5 separate regions of the Homo sapiens genome follow, and all the other regions are linked to region 4. The links are contacts of gene promoters, found by promoter capture Hi-C in human tissues and cell types (Jung and others, 2019). All regions are on one chromosome and are shown on one strand. Each heading gives the region's core, a stretch centred on a gene start or on the middle of the fragment in contact. The rest is flanking DNA. Distances are from core to core; before and after follow the strand shown.

Region 1 (2,700 bases), core at 130-2,629, 94 kb before region 4:
ACCTCTACTTGGGTATTTATTCGGGGTGTAATTACATGCTCACAGATGTTTTCCACAACAAACTTATCTGACATCCAACATGGGTTGGACAAAAACAGGCAGGCAGGTCTAAGGCTAACACCCCATTAAGAGGGAAAGTTCCAGAGCACTCAGGACACCCAGTATCCTCTACCACACACCCACAAACCAGCTGGCACAACAGAAGCTTTGCTGAGCCCTTTTAGAAAGCCATAAAAAACCAAATGGTCGTTTGATCCAGTGGTTCCACTTTTGTGAAGCATTCCTAAGGAAACGATTGGGAAAACAGGGGAAAAAAATGTTTTATGCCCAGAACCACCTCTGGATTCTCATGGTAAAAAACAAAAAAGCAAACAATCTAAATGTCTAACCACAGAAAGGCAGCCGAGTCAGCTGGAGTAGTAATGCCTGCGTTGACTATTTAGCACCTAATAGGGGCTAGTCACTTCACACTGTCACCTCATCCTCACACGCGATCTTGGGAAGTGGATTACGCAGTTATCCCTGTTGGAGACTGGAGAAGACTGAGGCTCAGACACCATGTAGATAGTAACAGTTCTCGGCTGCTGAGAGTCCCCTGTGCCGAGCCTTTTTCTCGGCCATCTGGACATTATCTCAGTCACTGCTCACGACAACCCTGTGAGGAAGCTGCTTCTCATAGCCTCCCTCTACCAACAAGGGCCTGAGACCCAGACAATCAATAATGTATCTACGGACATGCTCCTGCCAAATCCATGCCCATATCCCCTGGGCTCCAGTTGCTGTGCCCTGGTTACCCAGCAGCCAGTGGCAAAAGAGGGCCTTGGGGACAGACACGTCTGCTTTGAGAGCCACGTGTTTCCCATGACAAGATATTGTTCTTCTGTGACAGACTTTGAACTCCCTCTGTTACAGGTTGAATTATGTCCCTTCAAAAGATGTTGGATTCGCAGCTCCCAGTACTTGTGAATGTGACTTTTGTTGGAAATAAGGTCTTGGCAGATGTCCAGGTTAAGATGAGATTGTTAGGGTGGGCCTAATGCAACACGACTGGTGTCCTCATAAAAAAGGAAAATTTGGACACAGAGCCAGACACACATAGAGCTGAGACAATGTGAAGACAGAGGGAGGATGCCATCTATAAGCCAAGGAATCCCTGACATTACCAGAAGCTATGAGAAAGGCCTGGAACAGATGATCCCTTGCAGCTCTCAGAAGGAACTACCCTGCCCACACCTTGAGTTTGGACTCCTAACCAAGAGAATCCATTTCTGTTATTTAAGCCCTAGTTTGTTACTTTGTCATGGCAGCCCCAGGAAACTGATACAGGTTATTAGTAATTTGTCAGACTGTGGGGCAACTAGAAAAATAGTGGTAACAGGGGCCACATAAAAATACCTGAAGTAATGCCTGAGGTAAGGTGGCGGGTCAAGCCTGTAATCCCAGCACTTTGGGAGGTCGAGGTGGGCAGATCACCTGAGCCCAGGAGTTCCAGAGGCCTGGGCAATATAGCAAGACCCTGTCTCTACAAAAAAACCCAAAAGTTAGCCAGTAGCAGTGGAATGTGCCTATGGTCCCAGCTATTCTGGAGGCTGAGGTGGGAGGATCACCTGAGTTCCAGAGGTTAAGGCTGCACTGAGCCATACTGTACTCCAGGCTGGGTGACAGAGTAAGACTCTGTCTCAAAAGAAAACCAAAATGCCTGAGGTACGCATGATATTAAAGGGAACAGCAAAGGGCAAATGCATGCTGACTATCTGATCACCACTATGGTAAAAACACACTTGGATGCAGGTGGAAGACTGATAGAAAACACACCAGCACAACTAAGACGCCTGCCAATTTCTTCTCCCTACTCTTCTCCTTTTTTCCAATTTGATTCAGCAAATGTGGACTACTCTTGTAATTATTTTTTTGTTTTTGAGATGGAGTTTCACTCTTGTCGCCCGGGCTGGAGTGCAATGGTGTGATCTTGGCTCACTGCAACCTCCGTCTCCTGGGTTCAAGTGACCCTCCTACCTCAGCCTCCCAAATAGCTGGGATTACAGGCATGCGCCCAACTAATTTTTGTATTTTTAGTAGAGACAGGGTTTTGCCATGTTGGTCAGGCTGGTCTTGAACTTCGGACCTCAGGTGATCCACCCGCCTTGGCCTCCCAGAGTGCTGGGATTACAAGTGTGAGCCACCACACCCGACCTCTTATAAATTTTATACAATTGGCTTAAAAATGTATTTGGACCATGAGAAGATGGAGGTATATAAAATCATGGGCCAAATTGTGTCACTTCAAAATTCCTTTGTTGAAGGAATTCAACACCCAGTACCTCAAAACGTGACTGTATTTGGAGACAGGGCCTTTAGAGAGATAATTAACTTAAAAATGGAGTTTGTAGAGTGGGCCCTACTCCAATATGACTGTGTCCTTATAAGAAGAGAAGATTAGGGCCAGGCGCAGTGGCTGGCCGGGCAAGGTGGCTCACGCCTGTTATCCCAGCACTTTGGGAAGCCGAAGCAGGCGGATCACAAGGTCAGTAGCTCGAGACCAGCCTGGCAACCATGGCGAAACTCAGTCTCTACTAAAAATACAAAAATTAGCCAGGTGTGGTGGCACGCCTGTAATCCCAGCTACTTGGGAGGCTGAGGCAGGAGAATCACTTGAACCCAGGAGGTGGAGGTTGCAGTGAGCTGAGATTACACCACTGC
Region 2 (2,700 bases), core at 120-2,619, 120 kb after region 4:
AAATTTGGGGACACACTTTCAATTTCTGGGGTTGGAATAACAGCCGGCAGATGCCAAGCCTTCTTTCCAGAGCTCATTGAAAGCTCAGTGTCACCTGATTTGTTTTTACAGGGGAGACTGCATTTTAAAACTGTTATGTCAGAGTGTGGTGCCAGCAGTGCTGGTGGGACATGCATGGGAAGATCCAGAACTTGTTTTGCCAGAAGCTGGGAGATGTGGCCAAGAGAATGTGGGTCTGACCCCACAGCCACCTCCTAGTGCTATGGGGAGTCCAGCACTCACAGACTCCATCCACAGAGAAGCCCCCAACACCAGAGTTGCTCCCCAACTTGCCAGCACTCCCTGCAGAACCTGGTCAGCTTTCCTTCTGGGAAAGGGACCCAGAGGCTGTGCCCTGCCAGCATTAAAGCACCTGCTGTGTGCCAGGCTGGGGGCGCAGGTCAGTGTTCTCACCCTATGGGTGGAGTCTGGGCCCAGCAGTGGGTGCAGAAGGGAGTGACTCTCTCTGCCAAGCGGTGACAGCATCGAACGGGGAGCTCAGCCTCTGCCCAGGGGTTACAGGAGGATTGGAGCTGGGCCTCAGAGGAAGAGTACGCGGGCTGTGCAGATGAGAACAGAAGTAGTCCCAGAAGGAGGAGCCAGCAGGAGCCAGGGCTTGGAGGCAGGGATGTGGGCACAGGGCTGAGTGAGTCCTGGTGCTGCCTGCAGGGGAGCCTGCCCGCCCACCTTCAGGGCCTCTGACACTGGCTTGGGCTGTTACTCACTGTCTGGGCCAAATCCTGCAAGCTGTGAGACTCTGGAAAACTTCCGGTACCTCAGTTTCCTCATCTGTCAAATGGGGATGCTCACAGGAGTCTAAATGATGATGTGTGTGAAGCGCTGGGTTTGAGTCCCACACACCTGTGCTTACTGGGTGCTGGCACTGCCCTGTCCCAGCCTGAGCCCCGCACACCTGTGCTCACTGGGCGCTGATACTGCCCTGTCCCAGCCTGAGCCCCACACACCTGTGCTCACTGGGCGCTGATACTGTCCTGTACCATCCTGAGTCCTGCACACCTGTGCTCACTGGGTGCTGATACTGCCCTGTCCCAGCCTGAGTCCCGCACACCTGTGCTCACTGGCTGCTGATACTGCCCTGTCCCGGCCTGAGTCCCGCACACCTGTGCTCACTGACTGCTGGCACTGGCCTGTCCTCAGCCTGAGTCTGGCATGCCTGTGTTCACTGGGAGCTGACACTGCCCTGCCTCTGGCCGGAGTCTCAGGCTGGTGCCCCTGGCCCTCACAGGCCTTCCTTATTCTGGGCTGAAGCCTCTCTCATGGGAACATCTGCTGCCCACAGGCCCAGGTCCCACAACAAAGGTGACACAAGTGTGGTCCCACCATTTCTACAGATGAGGACGCTGAAGGGATGGGACCTGGTACAAAGTCACATGGAGGAGCAGCTGGGGTCCAGGGCGTCTCTGTCCCGTAATCACTGCATGGCCCTGTTGATGTGCCTACTCAGGGTCCCCTTCCCCTTCCCTGAACTTGGGGCTGCCTGAGCACCCCGTTCCCCCTGCAGCGGTCCAGCCTGAAATGAGGAGGAAACTAAGGACAGATGGAAACAAAGGTGACCCCAGGAAACATTTTCCAGGAAATAGAAGGCCTGCGCGGGCTGGGCGGGAGCCTGTCCTCCCAATCACACCCATCCAATGCGCGGCTCTGCCACTCAGGGAGAGATCTGCTCACCTCAGGGTGTGGCCTCATTTGGACCCTGTGCAGGGGCAGGGAAGGGCGTTTTGGTGGGCAAGGCCTGGGGCCCAGGTGGAGGGGAGGTGCTCCCCCCACACCCCATATCCTGCCTGCTGCTCCCCAGTTCCTTGGAGAACCTTCCAGAAGGTGGCAAACGCTGCCTGAGTCTCTCAGCTGAGTCACAGTCCATGAAAGCGGAGTGACGATTTTCAAACTTCTCTTGTCAAACCTGTCAGTTCCAAGGAAGGGCCCTCTCAGAACTGTCCCTGGTGGGGGTTACGGCCAGTGGCCACTAGGCTTGGGCTCAGGAAGGCGGAGGGAGGCCCAAAGCTCCAGGGGGTCTCACTCAGGCGTGAGTTGCTCTTCATGGAGTCAGGCTGGCTGGCATCCCTGAGCAAGACAGCGATGGGGCGGTCAGTGCCTGTGCCTCTAGGAGCAGAGACATGGCCACCCTGACTGCAGCAGGGGGCTCAGATGTCCTCTGATCCAGGACCCAGGAAGCTGGGGGGTCAAAGGAGGCAGCAGTCCTTGGGTAATGGGGTGCAGGGCCCCAACTGCTCTGGACTGGAGGAGACACCTGGCAGGGGCCATGAACAAAACCTCCGGAAAGTCCAAGCTTTTAAGAATGTTAGCGCAGAGGCTCATGCCTGCAATCCCAGCACTTTGGAAGGCTGAGGTGGGTGGGTCACCTGAGGTCAGGAGTTCGAGACCAGCCTGGCCAACATGGCGAAACCCTGTCTCTATTAAAAATACAAAAATTAGCCGGGTGTGGTGGGTGCCTGTAATCCCGGCTACTCGGGAGGCTGAGGCAGGAGAATTGCTTGAACCCAGGGGGCGGAGGTTGCAGTGAGCCGATAGCGCCACTTCACTCCAGCCTGGGCAAAAGAGCCAAACTCCGTGTAAAAAAAAAAGTTAGCATTAGTAATTATTTTATAGTGTCAAGAATCATTCTTGCAAAGATTATTTGTT
Region 3 (2,700 bases), core at 32-2,531, 73 kb before region 4:
CACATGTACCACTCGAACCAGCGAGCTAACCTCTGGCCCTGCCAGCAGCCGGGCCAGCCGCCCCACCAGGCTTCTCACTCATGGCCTCCTCTGTGTGCCTCCAGCCTGGCCTCCTTCCAGAGGTCTGTGGGTAGGCGCCAGCTCCCCACTTTGGGTTCTGGGCCCTGAGCGTGCCAGGAATATTACCCAACCAGGCATGATCCAGGGCGATGTCATCTGCCCAGCACTCAGCCTTAAATAAATGCTCAACAAATGTGAAGGATAAACACCACCAGCATCCCAGGGAGGAGTGGCTGCATCGCCCACAAAACTCTAGCCCTGTAAACGCCTTATACAGAAAGAGCAGGGACCCATCCTGTGCTCCCATGTCACTTTCCTAATACAAATATCAAACTTGGAAAAATTCAGCTGGCAGGGCCCAGGGAGAAGAAAACTAGCTGCCAGAGTTGTTGAGTGGGAGTTACAAGACCTGGATTTCAGTCCTTGTCATATCACTGTGAACATGGGAATCTTGCAAAAGATGCTTCTCCTGTCTGAGCCTCAGCTTTCCTCATTTATACGATGGGTGCAGACAGGGAAGACTGGGATCAGTGATCCCATCCAGGGGTGTCTGTCTGTCTCGGAGAGAGCTATTTCCAGCCCCCAGATGCCCAGTCCTGCCCCAGACCCATGGGGTGAGGACGGCCATGCAGACTCTCATGGACAAAAGCTCCAAAGGTTCCAATGGGCTTGCAGAGTCCTGGCACCAAACACAGCCAGAGCTGCTCTTTTCTCTCTAACTTTTAGCCTGCTGGGGAGGCAGTTTTTAATAGCAGGAGGGCTAACCAGCACCCCAGGTGCAGGGCAGAAAGGCTGGAGAGACAGATGGCACAAATCCACCAGTGTCTGTCCAAGCACTGGAACTTGAGACAGAGACCTACAGGGTGGTTTTGAACTTGACGTTAGGGACTCTGGGGGTCGGGGGGCAAGCCCAGGTCTTTGCACTCCACCCCCATATAGCCAGTCAAGGACAGATGCACAAATACCTCATTCAATGCTTCATCTTAATTTCTTTTTCTTTCTTTTCTTTTTTTTTGAGACAGAGTCTTGCTCTGTCGCCCAAGCTGGAGTGCAGTGGCGCCATCTCGGCTCACTGCAACCTCTGCCTCCTGGGTTCAAGTGATTCTCCTGCCTCAGCTTCACGAGTAGCTGAGATTATAGGCATGCACCACCACGCTCGGCTAACTTTTTTTGTATTTGTTGTATTTTCAGTAGAGATGGGGTTTTGCCATGTTGGCCAGGCTGGTCTCAAACTCTTGACCTCAGGTAATCTGCCTGCCTCGGTCTCCCAAAGTGCTGGGATTACAGACGTGAGCCACCGCACCCAGCCAATTTCTTAAAAAGAACAAAAAGTTTCAAGCCCAGTTGAGAATCAGGCACCCCATGACTCTAACTCCACCCTTCCAGGGAAGCAGCCGGCATTTCCGAAAAGTTCACTGCCTCCCTCCTGAGGCTGAGAGAAGCCTGTGCTGTCAGCAACCACAATGGTGGTGCTGGAGGCTCAGCCCCAGCTGGTGATGAATGGGGCAGGCATCGGCCACCTACAGCAGCCCTGGCAGCCTCAGGGTCTGCCCGGGAGGGCCGGGCTGGACTCACCTTCACACTGCTTGCCTTCCCCCTTGTAGCCTGGCTTGCAGAGGCATTTGTAGGACTTGGGCGTGTTCTGACAGATGGCATCGATGTGGCAGTCATCTGTGCCCTCTGAGCACTCATCCACGTCGACTGACCCTGTGGGTAGGGGTGTGGGGGGAATAAGAGGTAAGGTGTGGCCCCAGGGCAGGTGGCCGATAGTGTAGGGCAGGGGGAGCTCTTGCCTTTGCCCGTCCATTGATCGGTGGGCTCATTGGCAATAACAGCTGTCACAGGACAATCTGGTGTGACAAGTGGCAACTGGTAGCATCTTTGGCGCAGCTACTCTGTGGCAGGGACAATGCTATCAATACGCTTGGCCTTATTTATTGTCGCAACCATCCCATTGAGCTATTGTTCTGCTAAAAAGATGAGAAAACTGAGGCTTAAGGAGACAGTGAGGAAGAACCTCCTCCTCCGTCTGTCCTACTCCCCCAACAAGCATCACTCCAGCCCTCCCCTACTCTCCTCACTCTATCCCCTACTCTCCTTACTCTATCCCCCCACAAGCATCACTCCAGCCCTCCCCCATTCTCCTCACTCTATCCCCCCACAAGCATTGCTCCAACCCTCCCCCACTCTCCTCATTCTACCCCCCACAAGCATAGCTCCAACCCTCCCCCCACTCTCCTCATTCTATCCCCCCACAAGCATTGCTTCAACCCTCCCCCACTCTCCTCATTCTATCCCCCCACAAGCATCACTCCAGCCCTCCCCTACTCTCCTCACTATCCCCCCACAAGCATCACTCCAACCCTCCCCTACTCTCCTCATTCTACCCCCCCAACAAGCATAGCTCCAACCCTCCCCCCACTCTCCTCATTCTACCCCCCCCAAAGCATAGCTCCAACCCTCCCCCCACTCTCCTCATTCTAGAATTTAGAGCCAGAAGGGTCCTTGGAGGAGTTTAAATCTAGTCCCTTTGGGTTCCAGATGGGGACACCAAGGCCATGCCAGGAGGCTCCTGCAGGTCACCTGAACGTGGGATCCCACCCTGCCCCTAGCCTGTGGAAACACGGGATTCATCATCTG
Region 4 (2,700 bases), core at 141-2,640:
CCCTGCTTAAAAACCCTCTATGGCTCCCACTGCCCCTGATAAAGTCTATCCAAGGCTCTTCCCGATCTGGCTTCTGTTCCCTCACTCCCAGCCTTGCCACCTCATCTTCCCTCCCTTGCTTTTCCTTTGTCTCTAGCCCCAATGAACTCACATGCCAAGGCCTTTGCATGCCGCATTCCCTCGGCCTGGATGTCTTTTCCAGGCCTTCTCTCCTGGCATACACTCATTCAACTGGGCTGTCCCCACCTCCAGGAAGCCACACCAGATAGCAGTCCTCAGGGGCAGAATAGGCCTGAGGGGCCCGCAGAGGGTGTCCTTGGGGATTGTGTGATGTGTGTGTTGGTGAAGGGAGACCCTACAAGCATTTGTTGAGGGGCTTTGGGCCTCTGAGGAGCCACAGCCCCTTTTCATCTTCCTCTCAGTCTGGGAGGCCCAGGCCAGAGTGATCTGCACCCTAACTATACAAGGCCCTGGAATCCCCGTCCCACCCGCGGCAAGGGGCTGGAAGCCACAGGGCCTTAAACTCCCCAGGGTGACCCCCGACACTGAAGGCGATGGTCTCTGCTCTTCCCAGCAAGGCAGGGCCTCTTTACACTGGGTGTCGCGCCGTCTGAGTTCCTGACTTGTTTACCCATCCCGTTGGGGCTCCGGCCGCTGCAGGCTACCTGCTGTGCCCGGGATTGGGGACCTGTGACTCCCGAGTGGAAGAGATGGTGGCCCAGGAGGAGGACCCCGACCTATTCAGACTGGGAGCTGGGGTCAGAGTGTCTCCGTCTCCGGAGGGGGACCTTCCAGACCCCGGGCGGGAGGGGCCCACAGCAGGGTGCCCCGGCGGCCCCAGGAGGGGGTCCGGGCCTCGGGCGAAGGCTGCGGCGCCCCGGAAGGAGCCGCGCACGCCCCTGCACGCGGTGCCCGCTGCGGAGGCCACGGATCCGGAGGTGAGAGCGCCCCCGCCCCGCTCCCTGCCCAGCCCGCGCGCGGCCCGGTCCGGGGCTGGGGGCGGGCGCCAAGAGGGGCGCCGGGCGCAGTGGGGCGGCCCCCTCCCTTTTCCGCAGCGCGGGCCCCGCTCCTCCTCCCGCGTCCAGGCCCGCGGCCGCGCTCCCTGTCCCTCCGCAGCGGGATGCGGACTCCGAGCCCGGGCGGGGGCCGAGGGCCGAGGCCTGGCGGGCCTGGCGGGGGCCCCGGCGGGTGGCGGCGCAAGGGCCGGGACCGAGGCCGCGAGCGCGCCCCTCCCGGCGGCCGGGCGCGGAGAGGCGGGGAGGGCGGGCGTGGGGAGGCGGGCGGCGGCGGGCGGGGGGAGCCAAGGAGGCTCGGAGCCTCGCGGCGCGCGGGCGGGCGGCGGAGGGGGCGCGGGGAGCCCCCCGCCCCACGAAGGAGGAGTCTGGCTCCCACTTGCAGCCTCGGACGCGCGGCGAGGCGGCCGCCGCCGGAGGAGCCCCCGCCCCTGCGCGCCTCCCTCCCGGGAGCCCCTGCCTCCCTCGGTGCGCGCTGCTGCTCGCAGCCGCCGCGGCCGCCGAAGAGGAGCCCGGGGCCAGGTAGGACCGGAGGCGGGCGGGGCGCGGCGGGCGCGGGCGGGAGGCCGGGCGCGGGGCGCGGCCGGGACCCTCTCCAGGCGCTGGGCGACGCCCGCGGCGCTGCGCAGGGGCGCCCGCAAAGTTACTTTGGCCGCCTTTGCCGGGTGCGGGAAGCGGGCTGGGCACCCCAGCTGCCCCGCCTGCCTAGCGGGCGGCGGCGGGAGGGGGCTCCGCCAGGGCGCGGGACTCCGGCTGGGGCCGCGGGGTCAGCGAAACTTTTCCCTTGCTCGCCAGTCGCTGCTGCTGCTGGCGGAGTAGCTGGTGGAAGCAGCGGGCTGGTGGAGTGCCAGTGATGATGATAGTGGTAACAATAGCAGCCCCCGCTTGTAGAGAGCCTACTGTGTGCGCTGCCAAGCCCCTGCTGGCACTTGGGGGGGAAGAGATAGGGAACGAACGCTGGCCGAGTGGCCACTTTTGCTAGGTATTGCTGGAAACTTCATCCATTTCCTTCCATCCATTCATCCCTCCCTCCCATCCATCCATCCATCCATCCATCCATCCATCCACTCACTCAACACATATTTATTCCTGTCTGCTATGTGCTCGGCCAGGGGATTCAGTGGCTACCTAGACAGGTCCCAGCCCTCAAAGGGAATGTTGATCATGGAATGCCCAAACTAAGGAGCAGTTCTGTCTCCTGTGTGTTTGTTCTGGGACATGTTACGGGAGCGTGAATTCATGCTGTCTCCCTTCACCCTGGCAGGGCCAGAGGCGTGTCATTCAGAGCACTGATGTGCCCAGGAGTCTGGCAGGCCCCGGCCTGGCCTTCGGAACTCACCCTGCTCCTTTCCCTCCCACCTCTCCGGGCTCAAGCTGGGTGGCCCAGTTGGTGTCAGGAGGCTCCACTCCGGAACTGGCCCCCACCCCTGTCCAGCTGACCTCTCTGGGATGTCTCTTCCCCAGTGCTGGGCTGGCCTGGCTCCCAGCTCCCCTCCCAGAGTTTCTTTGCCTTCCCCCTCCCCATTTCCCCTGCTCTATTGAATGGCCCAGAGGAGAGCTTGTTAAGTGGCAAACAATTATGAAATTAAACTGGGGGAACAAAAGTGGGCTGGCTGTTGAATGGCGGAGCTGGCTCACGGGAGTTGAATGGCACTGGGAGACTTGTTAGCAGGGATCTGCGGCGCCG
Region 5 (2,780 bases), core at 123-2,622, 120 kb before region 4:
TTGATACACTTCTTTTTAACATAGACATCTTTTACTATTGGAACCAAAAGGATGTGAAAAGGTAAAGAGTTGGTGACCTGCACTGAACTGGGAGAGGACTTGGCTGTGGAGCGATTTGAGCCAGGTCCTATTTAGACTCATGGACGACAGACCACTTTACCACCTAAGACACCACACGGCTGCCTTTGAGGCCGACAGCGAGGCCATTATTCTTTGGCAAGCTCAAATGTCAGCCGTGTGGGCAGTCAGAGGAGGCAGGCAGAGCTCTGAACTCTAAAAGCCGCCAGTGGTTACAGCTAAAATGGTAGAAGTGGCCCTCGCTGAGAGGAGCCAGGTGATCGCACCATTCTGACTGGGGAAGCCTGGGGAGGAGGGAGAGGGACTATCCTCAGCACCTTTCTCCATTCAACAAAGCCTTGCTTAGGACCCCCTAGGGGCCCAGTGCCCATGCCACCTTTGCTGGGCGCAGCCCCTAGGGGTGGCGAGTGGTCGCCTCCCTCCCCTCCAAGCCTCAGCCATGTCTGCCCCTGGGGTCTGTCTCCAGCCTGCACTGGACCATGAAAAGCACCAAGCCAGGCCCCGTGTCCTACTCATCCTGCTAACAACACAAAGCAAACATCTGTGAGTGTTTATTATGTGTTAGGCGCAGGCCCACGCGATCCTCACAGCTACCTGGGTGACAGGTCATGTTATTGACCCCATTTTACAGATGAGGACACGGAGGCTCCGGGAGCTGGAGTAGCTTGAGTAGAGTGACACAGCACACCAGAGTGAAGGCGGGACCCAGCCCTGCGGTCTGGCTGCAGAACACGCGCCTTTGGCCCCAGGCTAAGCTGGCTGCGTCAGCGCATGTGCTCAGACCAATGCTGCGAAGAGCCGGCTGCTCCTCACACGAGCTGGAGTCCAGTGTCAACTTGAGCACGTGCACGTCAGCCCCAGATGCAGCTTGCCGTGAGGAGCATCGGGAAGGACCCAGCATTCCTGGGGTTAGTCCCATCTCTGGGCCTATAAGACCCTGTAGAGAACTGTGCTGGCATACACTTAACAATGGGACCTGGACATGGGCAGCTGTCCCTGGGACTCAGTTCGGACCCCTCTCATGTCACGGTTGTTACCTTCCTTCTCATGGTTCTCAGATTCCCTGCTCTGCGCCTTGGCTTCCCCAGCCCTATTAAAGGTCCGACTGTAAAGCAAACCAAACAGACACAGACTCTCAAATGCTGAGTTCCCAGTGCAGAAATGCTACCTCATCCCTGTCACGAGGAAGCTCCCTGGCGCCGCCCATCTGCAGCCATCTGGCCTGGCCACTCCTCACCTCACTGAAAGCTTGAAGCAAAGGGCGGTTGACGTAAGGCATCTACAAACCCTCAGTGACCTGGCAGGGCGGCTGGGCCTTGGGACAGGGCTGTTTACTCTACTAGGGAACAATGACTCGCCAGTGCTGATGAATAATGGGAAACAAATGCAGGGCCATGTAAACATGTCTTGTCCCCACTCCCAAGTGATAAAGTCCTGAGATGAAGCAGGTGGGAAGAGGGGGCTGCCCCTCTGCACCCTTTTCCCACTGCGGTCCAAACAGGCCTCACCCCCGGCCCCCGAGGAGGGGAGGAAATCATGGCTGCCAAATCTCTTGGGTGGCTTGAGGCCATGACCAGCATCTCTAGGGAAGGGCCTGAGGCCCCACACACGCCTCTTGCACCCCTGTGTCTCCAGCACTTCAAGTGGGCCCCACACTGAGGTCTGAAGAGCATCCAACTGCAGCAGCTGGGTCTGTGAGATGCCGCCCATGAGCCCAGGACAGACTGGGCTCACTTGGAGGCCCTGGCCAGGCCTGGCAGGGCACTATGAGAAACAGTACTTTGGCCCTCTCCAAGAGGTGCTGTGAGCCCAGCACACACCGCCCCATGGTCCCCCAGCATTTGGCACACTCTATTATGAGAGGTGTCCTCATGGAAAAGGGGAACCCACACCTGGGAGTCAGGCTCCCTGAGTTCTGCCCCTGTCTTGCCCTGTAGCCTGTGGGCGATGCCCAGGCCTTATCCCTGGGAAGTGCTCCCAGAGCTTGAGGGATTGCAGACTGCGTCCTCCAGGAAGTCCTCCTGGAATGCCTGTGGTGTGTGCAGCCCTCCTCCTTCTCTGCCCCGTGGAACTGACTGTCAGTGCATGGATGGGTCCTGTGTGGCTGGCCCCGTGTGAGAATCCCAGCCCACCCCCAAGCCCTCACACAGAGGTGAGCGTTGAGGCTGGGCGGGGTTGCCAGCCTCACTACCATAAATAACGGCAATTGCTGCCAGCGAGGCCCCAGCTCAGGCATTATCTTAATAAATCCACACAACAGCTCCACACCGGGGGCATTATTCTTATTATCCCTGATTCTCAGGTGAGAAAACTGGGGCCTGGAGATGGAGAGAGATTTCCTCAAAGCTCTAAAAGAGGCAGAAAGAGAACTGGAAGCCCCATGAATCCAAAGCCCTCCCTCTCCTCCCGCAGGATTCAGCTGTGAATGACGACCCTTCAAGTCCGATGGCGGTAGTGACGAAGGTTCCCAGGTGCTGATGCTTACAAACCTCCCTGGCCCCTCCATGCCCACCTCTCCAAAGCCCAGTGCTCAGCCTCCTCCTCCGTGTAGTCTTTCTGGTGCCCAGCATAATTCACTCCACCCCGGCTTCCAGGCCAGGCCTGCCTTCCTTCACTACTTCCTTCCTCTGCCCTGGACCAGAGGGCTTGCCTATCCTGTCCCCGCCCTGGGGTGAGGACAGATCTGAGTCTCCTTTATATCC

Evidence for each region. Contacts are between HindIII fragments. The study calls those that stand out against the background at their distance.
Region 1: a fragment that was not itself captured here is called in contact with the fragment with the promoter of MPPED1 in region 4 in 6 of the 25 tissues and cell types used here (H1 embryonic stem cells, IMR-90 fibroblasts, liver and 3 more).
Region 2: a contact is called between a fragment that was not itself captured here and the fragment with the promoter of MPPED1 in region 4, in 4 of the 25 tissues and cell types used here (IMR-90 fibroblasts, dorsolateral prefrontal cortex, lymphoblastoid cells and 1 more).
Region 3: a fragment that was not itself captured here is called in contact with the fragment with the promoter of MPPED1 in region 4 in 3 of the 25 tissues and cell types used here (dorsolateral prefrontal cortex, neural progenitor cells and thymus).
Region 5: a contact is called between a fragment that was not itself captured here and the fragment with the promoter of MPPED1 in region 4, in 2 of the 25 tissues and cell types used here (bladder and mesendoderm cells).

Annotation. Positions count from the first base shown.
Region 1 is chr22:43,316,828-43,319,527 of GRCh38, forward strand. The region is part of intron 3 of SCUBE1 (signal peptide, CUB domain and EGF like domain containing 1); the gene reads right to left. Among named protein-coding and RNA genes, the nearest start is that of SCUBE1, 25 kb to the right of the region's middle. The HindIII fragment of the contact is 7,519 bases long and covers 1-2,700 here.
Region 2 is chr22:43,525,915-43,528,614 of GRCh38, forward strand. The region is part of intron 2 of EFCAB6-AS1 (EFCAB6 antisense RNA 1); the gene reads left to right. Among named protein-coding and RNA genes, the nearest start is that of EFCAB6-AS1, 11 kb to the left of the region's middle. RefSeq lists an enhancer at 1,779-2,278. The HindIII fragment of the contact is 6,308 bases long and covers 1-2,700 here.
Region 3 is chr22:43,337,469-43,340,168 of GRCh38, forward strand. It overlaps SCUBE1 (signal peptide, CUB domain and EGF like domain containing 1), which reads right to left. Exons shown (of 22, transcript NM_173050.5): 2 at 1,636-1,767. Among named protein-coding and RNA genes, the nearest start is that of SCUBE1, 4.6 kb to the right of the region's middle. The HindIII fragment of the contact is 5,295 bases long and covers 1-2,700 here.
Region 4 is chr22:43,410,624-43,413,323 of GRCh38, forward strand. It overlaps MPPED1 (metallophosphoesterase domain containing 1), which reads left to right and starts at 1,391. Exons shown (of 7, transcript NM_001044370.2): 1 at 1,391-1,535. The HindIII fragment of the contact is 18,974 bases long and covers 1-2,700 here.
Region 5 is chr22:43,292,614-43,295,393 of GRCh38, forward strand. The region is part of intron 3 of SCUBE1 (signal peptide, CUB domain and EGF like domain containing 1); the gene reads right to left. Among named protein-coding and RNA genes, the nearest start is that of SCUBE1-AS1, 18 kb to the left of the region's middle. RefSeq lists enhancers at 552-1,069, 1,130-1,424. The HindIII fragment of the contact is 5,423 bases long and covers 1-2,780 here.